Linked DNA regions of Homo sapiens: all the other regions are linked to region 1. The links are contacts of gene promoters, found by promoter capture Hi-C in blood cells and fetal thymus (Javierre and others, 2016). All regions are on one chromosome and are shown on one strand. Each heading gives the region's core, a stretch centred on a gene start or on the middle of the fragment in contact. The rest is flanking DNA. Distances are from core to core; before and after follow the strand shown.

Region 1 (3,724 bases), core at 903-3,402:
TCATTCACCAGATCTATGCTACTTGGCCACTCCTAGCTGCAAAGAGGTTGGAAGTTGAGACTTTTGTTTCCAGCTTTGATAAAGTGAAGAATAGGAGAAAGTGAGTTGGATGGTGTTGATGAACCAACTTACAGTACATGCAAACTAGCCTACACAATCACTCTGTTCCATTATCTGCCTGATTTTGTACAGGTTGATAGCCTTGCCTAAAGGGCTTATATTACCTAGTCCTTTCTCTTTGAACTTATTTCAGTTCTCTCTTTAGCCAAACTTTTTTTTTTTTATACCCAATATGCTCTTCCATTTCAAACCTCCACACTTGGTCCAAGGTCCACATGGTGAAGGGCAAGTTACTCCTATAGGCAACAGCCACTGAAGGATTTATGGAAAGGGTGTGAAATGATCAGATTCGTATTTTGGAAGGACTGCTGTGGAGAACATACCTGGGCAGGAGCATGGGGTGCCATTAGGAGGCTGCTAGGGTTATCTAGTGGGGGCGCTGGTGAAATAGCAGGGCTGGAGAAAATAGCAGGGATGGAGAGATAGGTGGATTGGAGAAGTGTTTCAGAGATGAGATAGGTAGGACCTGATCACCAACGTGGCTAATTTCAAAGAAATGTTATTTGCCCAGTGTTTTGCAGCTATGAATTCAAACCTAGGCCTTCTTGTTGCAGGTCCAAGGGAAGATCTCATGGCATTGTCTCATGGTACTCAAAGCCCTGCGGGCCTCTCTAAATCCCCACTGTGGCACCAGGAGCCTGTGCCTCGCAGACCGCTGACCCCAGGAAGTAATGGACAATGAGGCGCAGCTGCTGCTGCCTCTCTGGGTTTGTGCTGAGGCCACCTTCTCGGGGCCGTTACAAGCCAGTGCCTGAGCATGCATGCTTACTAAGGCAGACTCATTTCTGGGAGACATAGACCTCCTCCCCAACGGATGACTGGCTAGAGAAGCTCCTTATTACCTTGCTGAAGTTCTCTTAGACTGCACAGCTGTCTGGGATGCTTCCACTCAACCTGGTTTCCTTCTTTTCCTCCCTCGCGGGTGGACTTGCATCGAGGTCTGATGGCTCTCACAGCCTTACCTAGTTCTCTCCTCATTCTCTCTCACAACAGCATTTCCCCTAATAAAATCCATGCATATTTAATTCTATCTTGGAGTCTGCTTCTTGGAGGAGCAGACTAACACAATTATGTAAGAACTGGCTCCAGGGATCAGCTTATAATCACTGACTTCCTCTGAGTTTGTCCACATTTTTTAGGCGATGGGGAAGCTTGGCTTTAACAGTGCCTGACCTACTTTGATGCAATGAATTTTTGCTTTTTTACTTCTTACACAAAAGATAAACATGGAATGTTTATCATTTCAACATGGAATGACAGTTTCTAAAGTATAACTTTAGAAAGATATACTTTATCCTCCTTGAATCCTAAGCATGGTGCACAAAAGCTATTTTACAACACTGTCATTAGTGATATTGGGTGTATGGCCCTGTAAAGCCTCCAGTCAAAGGTTTTGCTAGGAATCTTTGCCAACCGAAGAAGCACTTCCAGAACAAATGCCGAAGCACAGAGCAGCCTTTCTATGCACTCTGAAAACCTCCTCTTAGCTGGCCTTCCTGTCTTTCTGGGACCAGATTTTGGGGTCAAAGCCTTAACATTTGATAAACTGTAATCTCAAACTAAAACAGATTTCTTTGAGAAAATGAGAGCAAACACGGCCTGAAATGGTAAAACAAGGCACCTCTCAATATATCCAATGTGAAAACCATACATGTTGGCTTCCTTAGTCCAAAAGTTAGAATCAAAATGTTGATTTTTGATTAGCAGAGACACAAACAGCATATTCAGGAAGCCATTGTTTTCAAGAGCCAGGAAGAAAACTCTTCACTTAGGATACCGTAAGAATCCTTTTTTCTTGGGCTACTTTATAAAACATACATACCACAGAGTTTCAGGCTCTTTAAAAACCCATCTTTACACTGATCTAACTGCTCAGATTAATTTTGAAACAGGCAACGTGCAGAAAAAAACAACATCTAAAAATTAAACCTCCCCTCTTTCCGTTCTAAAGTTTCATTTCAAAAGTATTAGGAAATCTTACTTTAAGCAGCGAGCTGATGGCGTTCTCCAGAACTCGGTTTGAGCAACAAACTTGAGACAACCTTTGTCTGGAAGCAAGTCAAGCGCTTAATAATGCATGCTGGGATTTGTAGTTTCCCTGCTTTCAGAGTTTAGTGGCTCCATCCATACACTTTATAAATGTATGTGCTGCCATCTAGTGGAATTCAGGTAGAACTATGAATTCCAAGTGGAAGGTGAAAAGTGGAAAAGCACCTTAGAGCTTACTTAGGATGCGGAAATCATTTCCTTCACTTCAGTCTCTCCACTTCTCTGTTTTGTTTATGCCTACTATATGCGGTGCCAGGGTAGACGAGATTGGCTGAGCTGGAAACTGCGTGTGGAAGATAGCAGAGCAACAAAATAGAGGGAACCCAGGTCACTGAAAATTCTGGAGCCTTCCTGTCACTTGGCCTGGATTGTTTTAAGGGAGAGAAATAAAAAAAAAAATCCTTTTTGTTTGAGATACAGTTGTGATTTTTATTTTTTCATGCTCAGAATATTCTAACACTAATGCACATTTAGTGGCAGAATGCCAGGAGCCTTTTACTACACTGGGAATGGGGTTGGGGAGAACGTGAAACTTGGATGACAGGGTGGAGGCTTAAAAGGGAACATGTTAACAGCGAAAAACCCCAGTTTGGCTGAAGAGAACAGAGATATAAGGTCAAAAAGAAAGGACTAGATCTCATGAGCCCTCTAGGTTAGGATAGCAACATGTGCTTTATCTGTAGTGCCAGTGAGCAGAGTGATTGTGTAGGCTACTTGTACATGTACTGTATAAATTGGTTTCCTCAGCACCCATCCAACTCACTTTCCCCTTTTTTCACTTGTCAAAGCTGGAAAACAAAAGTCTCTACTTCATAGCCTTGTTTGCTGCTAGGGGTGGCCAAGCAGCATAGATGTTGCCAATGAAATGCAGGTGGGAATTTCTGAGGAGGGCCTCCTTCTTAAATAGAAAAGTAAGCCCTTCTGAAAGGCTTTTAGCTTTTGCTCCTCCCTTTCTTTTTGCCTGGAATGAAGATAGGATGCCGTGGGACAGAGCAGCCATTTAGTGAGTTCATCTGAGGCCAGAGGCACACATTAACGACAGGGACCAGCAAGAGAAGGAGCCTGCGGCCCTGATGACAGCCTCAAGGCAACAACTCCTCTGGACTTCTTATGTGAGGACAATAAACTTTAGTGTTTTTCACGTTTTTTGTTACATGGAGCTAAGTGATTTCTAACAGTCACAGGGGATAAGAACAAAGACTGTGGCGTCAGTAAGACTAGAGCAAGTCCCATATCTCTCTCTCACTAGCTAAGTGAGTAAATCACTTAAATCTCTGAACCTCTTATGTTTCTCATCTGTAAAATGAAGGTAAAATAGCACCTACCTCAGGGATGTGGTGAGGAGGAACGACTAAGCCTGTGAATCCATCAGCACAATGTTTGCCACACAGGTGCTTAATACATGTTAGTGATTCTTATGATGAAGACATTGTTGGAGAAATTTAATTATAATGGATGGTAAAAGTTGCGCTTTTTAATGTTCTTTTAAAAACTGGACTTAGTTTCTGCATGTGTCTATATGAGGTCTATGGTAAAATTGTCCCTCCTTGTTCAT
Region 2 (3,724 bases), core at 627-3,126, 540 kb before region 1:
TTGCCAGGGTTAGGTGTTCCTAACTGGTTTCAAGCAGAGGAGTTAGTAAAATTCCAAAAGTTAATCAGCTTCATGTACTCAACTTTTGCTAGGACTTTGCAGAAACTCCTCAGGGATCCCTCAGAGTTAGATTAGGGAGATGAACCCTGCCAAAGGACAGTAACCATTCAACAGCTGGATAGCCTGTTGGGCCCCACTGTCCTCAGCCTTTCCTAATGTTGCCTGGGAACACCACTTTTCTGCTCCCTCCTTTTTCAGTGTAGCCTGGAGACAATTATTTATTTATTCACTAGCTCTTTTAACAAATATTGATTAAGTAGGTACTGGTTCTGTTCTAGGGGTTGGAAAAACAGAGAAAATTAAATAGTGCCTTTGTCCTCAGGAAACAATCCATTTAATAGAGAGACGAAGATATGCCCTTAAATACCTGAATCACCAGCATAACCAGCACCTGCGGCTGCCATGTGGGAATTGTTGAACAAGATAATTTTTGAATGAAAGAGTAAATGACCTAATTGCTCTAATGTAAAGATAAATTTCTAAGAGTCGGCTAGTTGGGATGATTATAGAAGGATTCAAGGGAGAGATGTATGAAAGCATAGATCTAACGAGAGAAAACAGCACAGCAGAAAAAGCAGCAAAGGCTCAAAAGTAGAAATCTCTGAGATCGAATGGAGAATAGTAAATAATTTGCTGGAATGAAGAGCACGTGGAAGGCAAGGGTGGTAAGAAGGCTGGAGATAGTAGATAAGGCCAAATCATGCAAGGATTTAAACTGTATGTTTTTAGAAAATGGGTAAGCTATAGAAATTTTATATAGGAATGAGAAATTATCAGCAGCATTGTGCTTTAGGACTACAAATCTGGTAGCAATCTGCTAACTGATATTGGAAGGGAAAGGCCCAGAGACACTAGTTGGAAGAATTGCAGTGATTCTTCATGAGCTAAACTAAGAGTTCAAGCTAAGATAGATAAACTAAGGAATGAGAATGGAAGAAAGGGACAAACTGAGATTTTTGGGGTGGTACTCAGCTGAAGTTTGGCAACTGGTTAAACATAAAAGACAAGAGACAGAGAGGAATCCAAGATGAAAAGACGATTTTGCTGCACTTTTTTAGAAGGCAGCATTTGTATTTCCATTTCCAGGAGGTGGAGTAGCTTTGAGAAGAAAGGTGATTAGTTCAGTTTTGGGCACATTGAGCTGTAACGGTATTATGGACAGGAAGATACCCTACAAACAGCTGGAAATTTTGCACATGCTTAAAAAGAAGATGAGAACATGAGATTTCAATTTAGCCATCATCTGCATGGAGTAGACAATTCAATCCAGGAGACTTGATAAGAATGTCAAGGGAGTGATCACGATAAAGGTGAGAAATGGACTGAGCATCGATCTCTGCTGAAACATCTCTTTGAGCAGGAAGAAGAGTGCCTTAGCAAAAGCAGCCAGTGAAATGGGGAGTTGGGGGAGACTTTCAAGGAGGGAATGGTAACATATCCCATTCCCAAAGAGGTCAAGTAGGGTTGAGGAATAATAAATGGCTAGTGGGTTTGGAAACATGGAATCTGTCATGACCTTTACACACTTTTTCATTTGATGGATCGGGGGATTACTTACATTTGCAAAGGGCCTCAGATTAAGTGGTAATGGTTCAGCATTAGTAATTAGAGATTTTCTTATGTACTTTGTAGGGAGAAATAGAATGGCATTCAAACAGGTTTAAGTTCCTCTTAAGAACCTTTCTCATTGGATTGTAGAGAAGAGCAAATGAAAGAATCGTTCAGTATTTCTTGGTATCATGCCCAGCCCATAGGTTTCAATTAATGTTAACCTTTACAGTTGTCATCATCATTATCCAGAAGGGGCTTTTTTTTAGAATAAGGAAGAAAAGCAGTGCTCATCTGTAGACAAGGGAAAAAATCCTTTGGAAGAGAGAAAGAGAAGGGTAATTCAAGAAGATCAGGAATAAACATTAAGGGTAAAAACAGAATGGTTAGCCCTGGAAAAGGGAACAAACATGTTTCTCTGAATTAGGAGAGGATATGTGAAGTAACAGGGATGTTTTGAGCCTCAGTGACAGTAAGGAGAAGAGAGAGTGAAGGAACTTGCACGCAGTGACTTCTACCTTCTCATTAAAGTCAAGAGAGAATCTCAACTGCAGATATCTGCTTAAGGTAGGAAGAGAGAAATAAGAATTGCTGTCATTTATTTTGTGGTTTTGATATAGCAAAAACTGTACTAGACACTTTACCTCCTTTAATCCTCAGAAAACTTAGAGATTATATATTTGTATTCACATTCTACAAATGAGAAAGCAAGTAAAAAAGTTAAGTAACTCTCCCAGAGTCCCCCAGATGGTCATGGGAGCCCAGATTCAGAGCCAGCTATGTCTTACTCCAAAGCCTGTGCTCTTTATTGAAACATACTCCACTAGTTTGAGATCTTGGAGGTGTACCCCTGCACTACTATCAGGACTACCCCTGATAAAGTCCTGTGGGGTAGTTGTTCCTATCCATCACCACAGTGAATATCAAAGAAGGGCCCTCTCATTTGAGGAATAACAGACAGTGAAATTGAGATGGACCAGAAATGCAAATCCTGGATCCCTGAGGGAAACAACAAAATGAAGCATAGAGGAAATATCTGAGTCTGGTGCCAAGACTCATCAGTACAAGAGAGAATGCCTAATGGGCAATAGCAGTTAGGGTGGGAAAAGAGAAGTACAAGGGGGTGTCTTGGAATTTGAGGGAAGAACTGCTGCCTTAGTTTTCGAAGGATGATTATTCGAGAGTTGCCCTCCCTTCACTTTCTCACAGCTGGCAGAATTCCTACCTCTTAGTGGTTAGATTCCTTTTTACCAGATACTGTAGGGCCAGTGCAGCAACCAGAGCCCCCAGCCAGAAACCCTGCCTCCAATTTAGACCAGTGTTCTGCTCTGGTGTGTAATAATCATATTCTAATTTAAATAGCCTATTGAGATGCTACATTGATATCTAGCCTTTTTTTTTTTTTTTTTTACTTTTAAGTTTTATGTGCAGGATGTGCAGGTTTGTTACATAGGTAGACGTGTCATGGGGGTTTGTTGTACTAATTATTTCATCACTCAGGTATTAAGCCTAATATCTGTTAGTTCTTTTTCCTGGTCCTGTCTGTCCTCCCACCCTCCACCCTTTGATAGGCCCCAGTGTGTGTTGTTTCCCTCTATGTGGCAATGTGTTCTCATCATTTAGCTCCCACTTATAAGTGAGAATATGCAGTATCTGTAATAATGGGTTTTCTGTTCTCGTGTTAGTTTGCTAAGGATAATGACCTCCAGCTCCATCCATGTCCCTGCAAAGGACATGATCTTGTTCTTTTTCATTTCTGCATAGTATTCAATTGGCCATTTTTTAAAAGACAAAATAACAAAAAAAAGAGTACAGTTATCTCCACTCCTCACCCACTACCTGCCACCTAACCCAACCCTTTATATTTTAGTAATTGCCTTCCATAAATAACATTTTATCCTGTCTTAATTATGCATTCATTAGTGTATTAATTATTGAATGCCCACAATATGACAAGCATTATTTCAAGCACTGAGGATACAGCAGAGAATAAATCAATATCCTCACTGTTTTTATTCCATTTTTTTAAGAGACAGGGTCTCACCCTGTTGCCCAGGCTGGAGTGCAGTGGTGCGATCATAGCCCAATGCCACCTTGAACTTCTGGGCTCAAAGGA
Region 3 (3,724 bases), core at 348-2,847, 520 kb before region 1:
CCCACTCCCGTAATCAAATTTGGAAGTCAAATAAGCTCTGAAAACCAAAACATTCTTCCAAGTTTATTGCAGACTCATTTGGTAGTAAAAACCAATCTGACCTGATGTGTAGCTGTTTATAGTCTTTATTTTTCCATTTGGTGAGTCCAATTATATATTTCGCTGAGGAAATACTAACGTGTTTGACTACATTGTGTGCCCCAGACCTGCTTAGAGTATTATGTAATATGCAGTATAGGCCATATATTGCCTTTTTAACATCAAAAATACCCTAAATTCTGAAATGCATGTAGCCCCAAGAGATTTGTATAAAGCATTGAGGGCCTGTGTATTTTTTTTTAATTTACAAGTGAAGCCAGATTCCCTAGACATTAAGTGCCTAACTTTTGGTTGTTGTTGCTGCTGCTGTTACTGTTTTTTCTCCAGCTTCGCAAACCTGGGTATACTTCATGTGACAAAGAAAAAAGTATTTGAAACACTGGAAGCACGAATGACAGAGGCGTGTATAAGGGGCTATAATCCTGGACTCTTGGTGCACCCTGACCTTGCCTATTTGCAAGCAGAAGGTGGAGGGGACCGGCAGCTGGGAGGTAAGCATCATTTTCCTGGCCTTGATCCTCCAAGGGGTCCAGGCTTTGGTTTTCATCTGTATGAATTATATGTTCATCTGCATCCCTTCCAGTCTCTACCCCACACTGCTGTCACCTTTTCCTTGCTCAGAAACCTTTGATGGCATCCTGCTACTTCTAGGATAAAAACTATAGCTCCATAGCCTGTCATACAAAGCCCTGCTTCTCTGGCCCCAGCAACTTTCAGCCTCATCTCCAGCCCACCTTGCATCCTCCTCTTGCCATCTCTGCTCTCTGAATAACTGAGGCATATTTATACCTTTGTATGTGTCTTCCTTTACCAAAAACACCCCACCGTTTCCATTTCACCCTCTCGAAAACCAATGCAGAAATCAAGACTTTGTCTAAAGAACACCTCTGTTTTACCTTCCCCAACTCACCTTATTATAAGGCATTTTTCTTTCTTTGGGCTCTGCAGACACATTATAAACTATTATCTTTATCATAAAAATTGTATGATTTTCCATTTTCTTGCCTTTTCTCAAATTTTTTTTTCAACCCCATTCCCTGTCCCACCACATGCCCCATTTCTACTTTTGTATTTTGTCCTTTACTCTGGCCGTCCAGTCGTCATCTGATACTCATGTGATTCAAAACCGATTATCAGTTTTCCACTAAATATACTCCATCTTCTGATACCCAGACTCAAAACCTTCCCATCCTCACTGACTCCCCCTCCTCGCCTGTGCTGCGAGGCTGTGGTCCAGCCATTCCGTGCTCTCTGGCATTCCACACTACATTCCATTTTCATTGTTCCACTTATAGTAGTCTTCTCCCTGGTCTCTGTCCCTCCCCACTTCTAATCAAGTTTACATCTTGTAGCCAGATAGATATTACTGAAGTTCTGTATCTTGTTGCTGCTCCGTGTCTCCGTTTTGCCTACAAAATCCAAATTCTGTAAGTTGGCTTTTTGGATCTCCCAAGAGCTGGCCTCAGGCTGCATTTCCAATCTATTTCCCGTTTTGCCCCTTCAGGTCAAAGTCTACTACTTGGTAGGAGCACCATGATTTCTCACTTTCCTGCCTTGGCACATTCTTTCTATTTTTGCTCTCTCCTCTTCCTGGAATGCCTTTATCCACTCTCTTATATGAATGTGTTCAAATTCTGCCACCTTTTCAATATTCAGAGCAAATACCTCTTCTGCTCCAAAGCCCTCTGAACTCTCTCCTTCTTTGAAATCCCACATCACTTCATTTGTAGCTCTCTTGTAGTACTTGTCTCTTGAATCACTACCTTTTATGATATTATAGCTTAATTATGACTATATCCATCAGCGTGAAAACTCCAGCAGGAGGGAAGGAAACAGATGTCCCTGAGTCATTCAGTTCCTTCAGAAGTTGTTTTTGAGTACCTACTATGTGCCAGGCTGTCTGCTTGGCACTGTGGAATGAGCTCACTCCCTGTGCCCAAGCAGCTCTTGGAATAATTTGCACACTTCTCAATACAGCTGGTGCCTAGTAGGGTTATTCAATTCCATTCCATCACATCCTGTGTGCCTTTAACTCTTACTGTAGAGAGGAAAGGGAAAGGTGGGGGAAGGACAGGAGAGGAGGGAGGCGATCTGATACACGGAAGAGAGTTTTTACTGTAATCCGGAGAAAATGCAGGTCTTCTTTGATGCCTTTCATATTGGATGACATAAATGAGACTGTTTTTAACACTTTATTAGCAATATGAAGAGTTTCAAAAGAGGAAAAATGGGTTTTTATTGTAAGTTTACATTATTTGGGCTTTATAAAAGCATGGTCTTTTAAATGTTCACACTTCCCTGGGCATGAATGGACTGTGCTGTATGGCCCTAGATCGGGAAAAAGAGCTAATCCGCCAAGCAGCTCTGCAGCAGACCAAGGAGATGGACCTCAGCGTGGTGCGGCTCATGTTTACAGCTTTTCTTCCGGATAGCACTGGCAGCTTCACAAGGCGCCTGGAACCCGTGGTATCAGACGCCATCTATGACAGTAGTGAGTACTTCACTTCCAACAGGGGGCACACCAAGAATAGACTTCCAGCCCTGCCCTGCCATTTACTTGCTAGCTGAGTCCTGGGGAAGGTAACTTAATCACTTTAAGCCTCAGCTTTATCATCTGTAAAATGTGAATAGGAAAATCTAGCTTGAAAGGTTGATGTCCAGGTTAAATGAGGTATTTTAAGAGGGGCTCAATACATGTAATTCTTTTTCCTTTGATGTACATTTTTTAGTCTTTTACATGAAATGTCACATCTCATCTTATTTATGAATGTCTTGCTATAAAGATATATGGTTGATACTTTTAGAAGGGAGAATAATCCCAATTTTCTTTGGTGGTGGGGGGACTCTGGAAAGGAGTTTATAAAAGACAACTATTATTCTTACCCATTTTCTTTCCCATATGTTACTAGCTTTATCAAGAGAGAAACTTGAAGTTAAATGAATGAGTAGCATAGACAGCATGTGACTTCAAAATCCTATTTCAAGCCGGGTTTGGCGTCATGCCCTGTAGTCTCACCTACTTGGGAGGCTGAGGTGGGAGGATATGGAGTTTCAGCCCAGCATGAGCAACATAATGAGACCCCATCTCAAAAAAAAAAATATATATATATATATATGTATATATATATTAATTTATAGTTCCTAGGACTTTTTAAGAGTTTTACAGTAATCTTCAGCATTTACCATGCAACTTTCTTGTTTGATTATGCATAGGATTGATTAGACAGGTATTTTCAAAAAGCCTGCAAGCATAGTACTCAGACTCATTGAAAGTTTATAGAATTTGGCCTGTGTGGAAAACTCTGTGCTCCAAGTACAACAACTAACTGAATTCTCTAATTTAAACAACTTTGAAGGGAAGTGAAAGGTTATAAAATGATACAGACTCATACCGCAGAATCACCTTAAAATGCAGCTGTTGGAGAAAAAAAAAAAGGAAGCTTTATGCTATTACCACAAGAAAGTTTTGCCTCTTCACCACACAGAATCCTAATTTAGTTTGGGAAAAAGAAACATAACATCCCCATTTTCCTTACCTGTAAAATAAAAGGTAGTAAGTAGTTTAAGAAAACTGTACTTTTCCTAAAGTTTTTAGGACTCTTGTAAATAGAATAATAGCAGAATC

The links. The method cuts DNA at HindIII sites, captures the fragments that hold promoters and counts their contacts. A CHiCAGO score of 5 or more calls a contact.
Region 2: a contact is called between a fragment that was not itself captured here and the fragment with the promoter of BDH2 in region 1, in 1 of 17 cell types (total B cells). The highest score is 5.3, in total B cells.
Region 3: a fragment that was not itself captured here is called in contact with the fragment with the promoter of BDH2 in region 1 in 15 of 17 cell types (total B cells, M2 macrophages, naive B cells and 12 more); the score reaches 10.5 in total B cells.

The regions. Positions count from the first base shown.
Region 1 is chr4:103,097,682-103,101,405 of GRCh38, forward strand. It overlaps BDH2 (3-hydroxybutyrate dehydrogenase 2), which reads right to left and starts at 2,153. Exons shown (of 10, transcript NM_020139.4): 1 at 2,102-2,153. The HindIII fragment of the contact is 3,413 bases long and covers 1,270-3,724 here.
Region 2 is chr4:102,555,032-102,558,755 of GRCh38, forward strand. The region is part of intron 5 of NFKB1 (nuclear factor kappa B subunit 1); the gene reads left to right. Among named protein-coding and RNA genes, the nearest start is that of NFKB1-AS1, 54 kb to the left of the region's middle. The HindIII fragment of the contact is 5,146 bases long and covers 1-3,724 here.
Region 3 is chr4:102,576,450-102,580,173 of GRCh38, forward strand. NFKB1 (nuclear factor kappa B subunit 1) reads left to right here. Exons shown (of 24, transcript NM_003998.4): 7 at 427-590; 8 at 2,432-2,590. Among named protein-coding and RNA genes, the nearest start is that of NFKB1-AS1, 76 kb to the left of the region's middle. The HindIII fragment of the contact is 3,879 bases long and covers 1-3,537 here.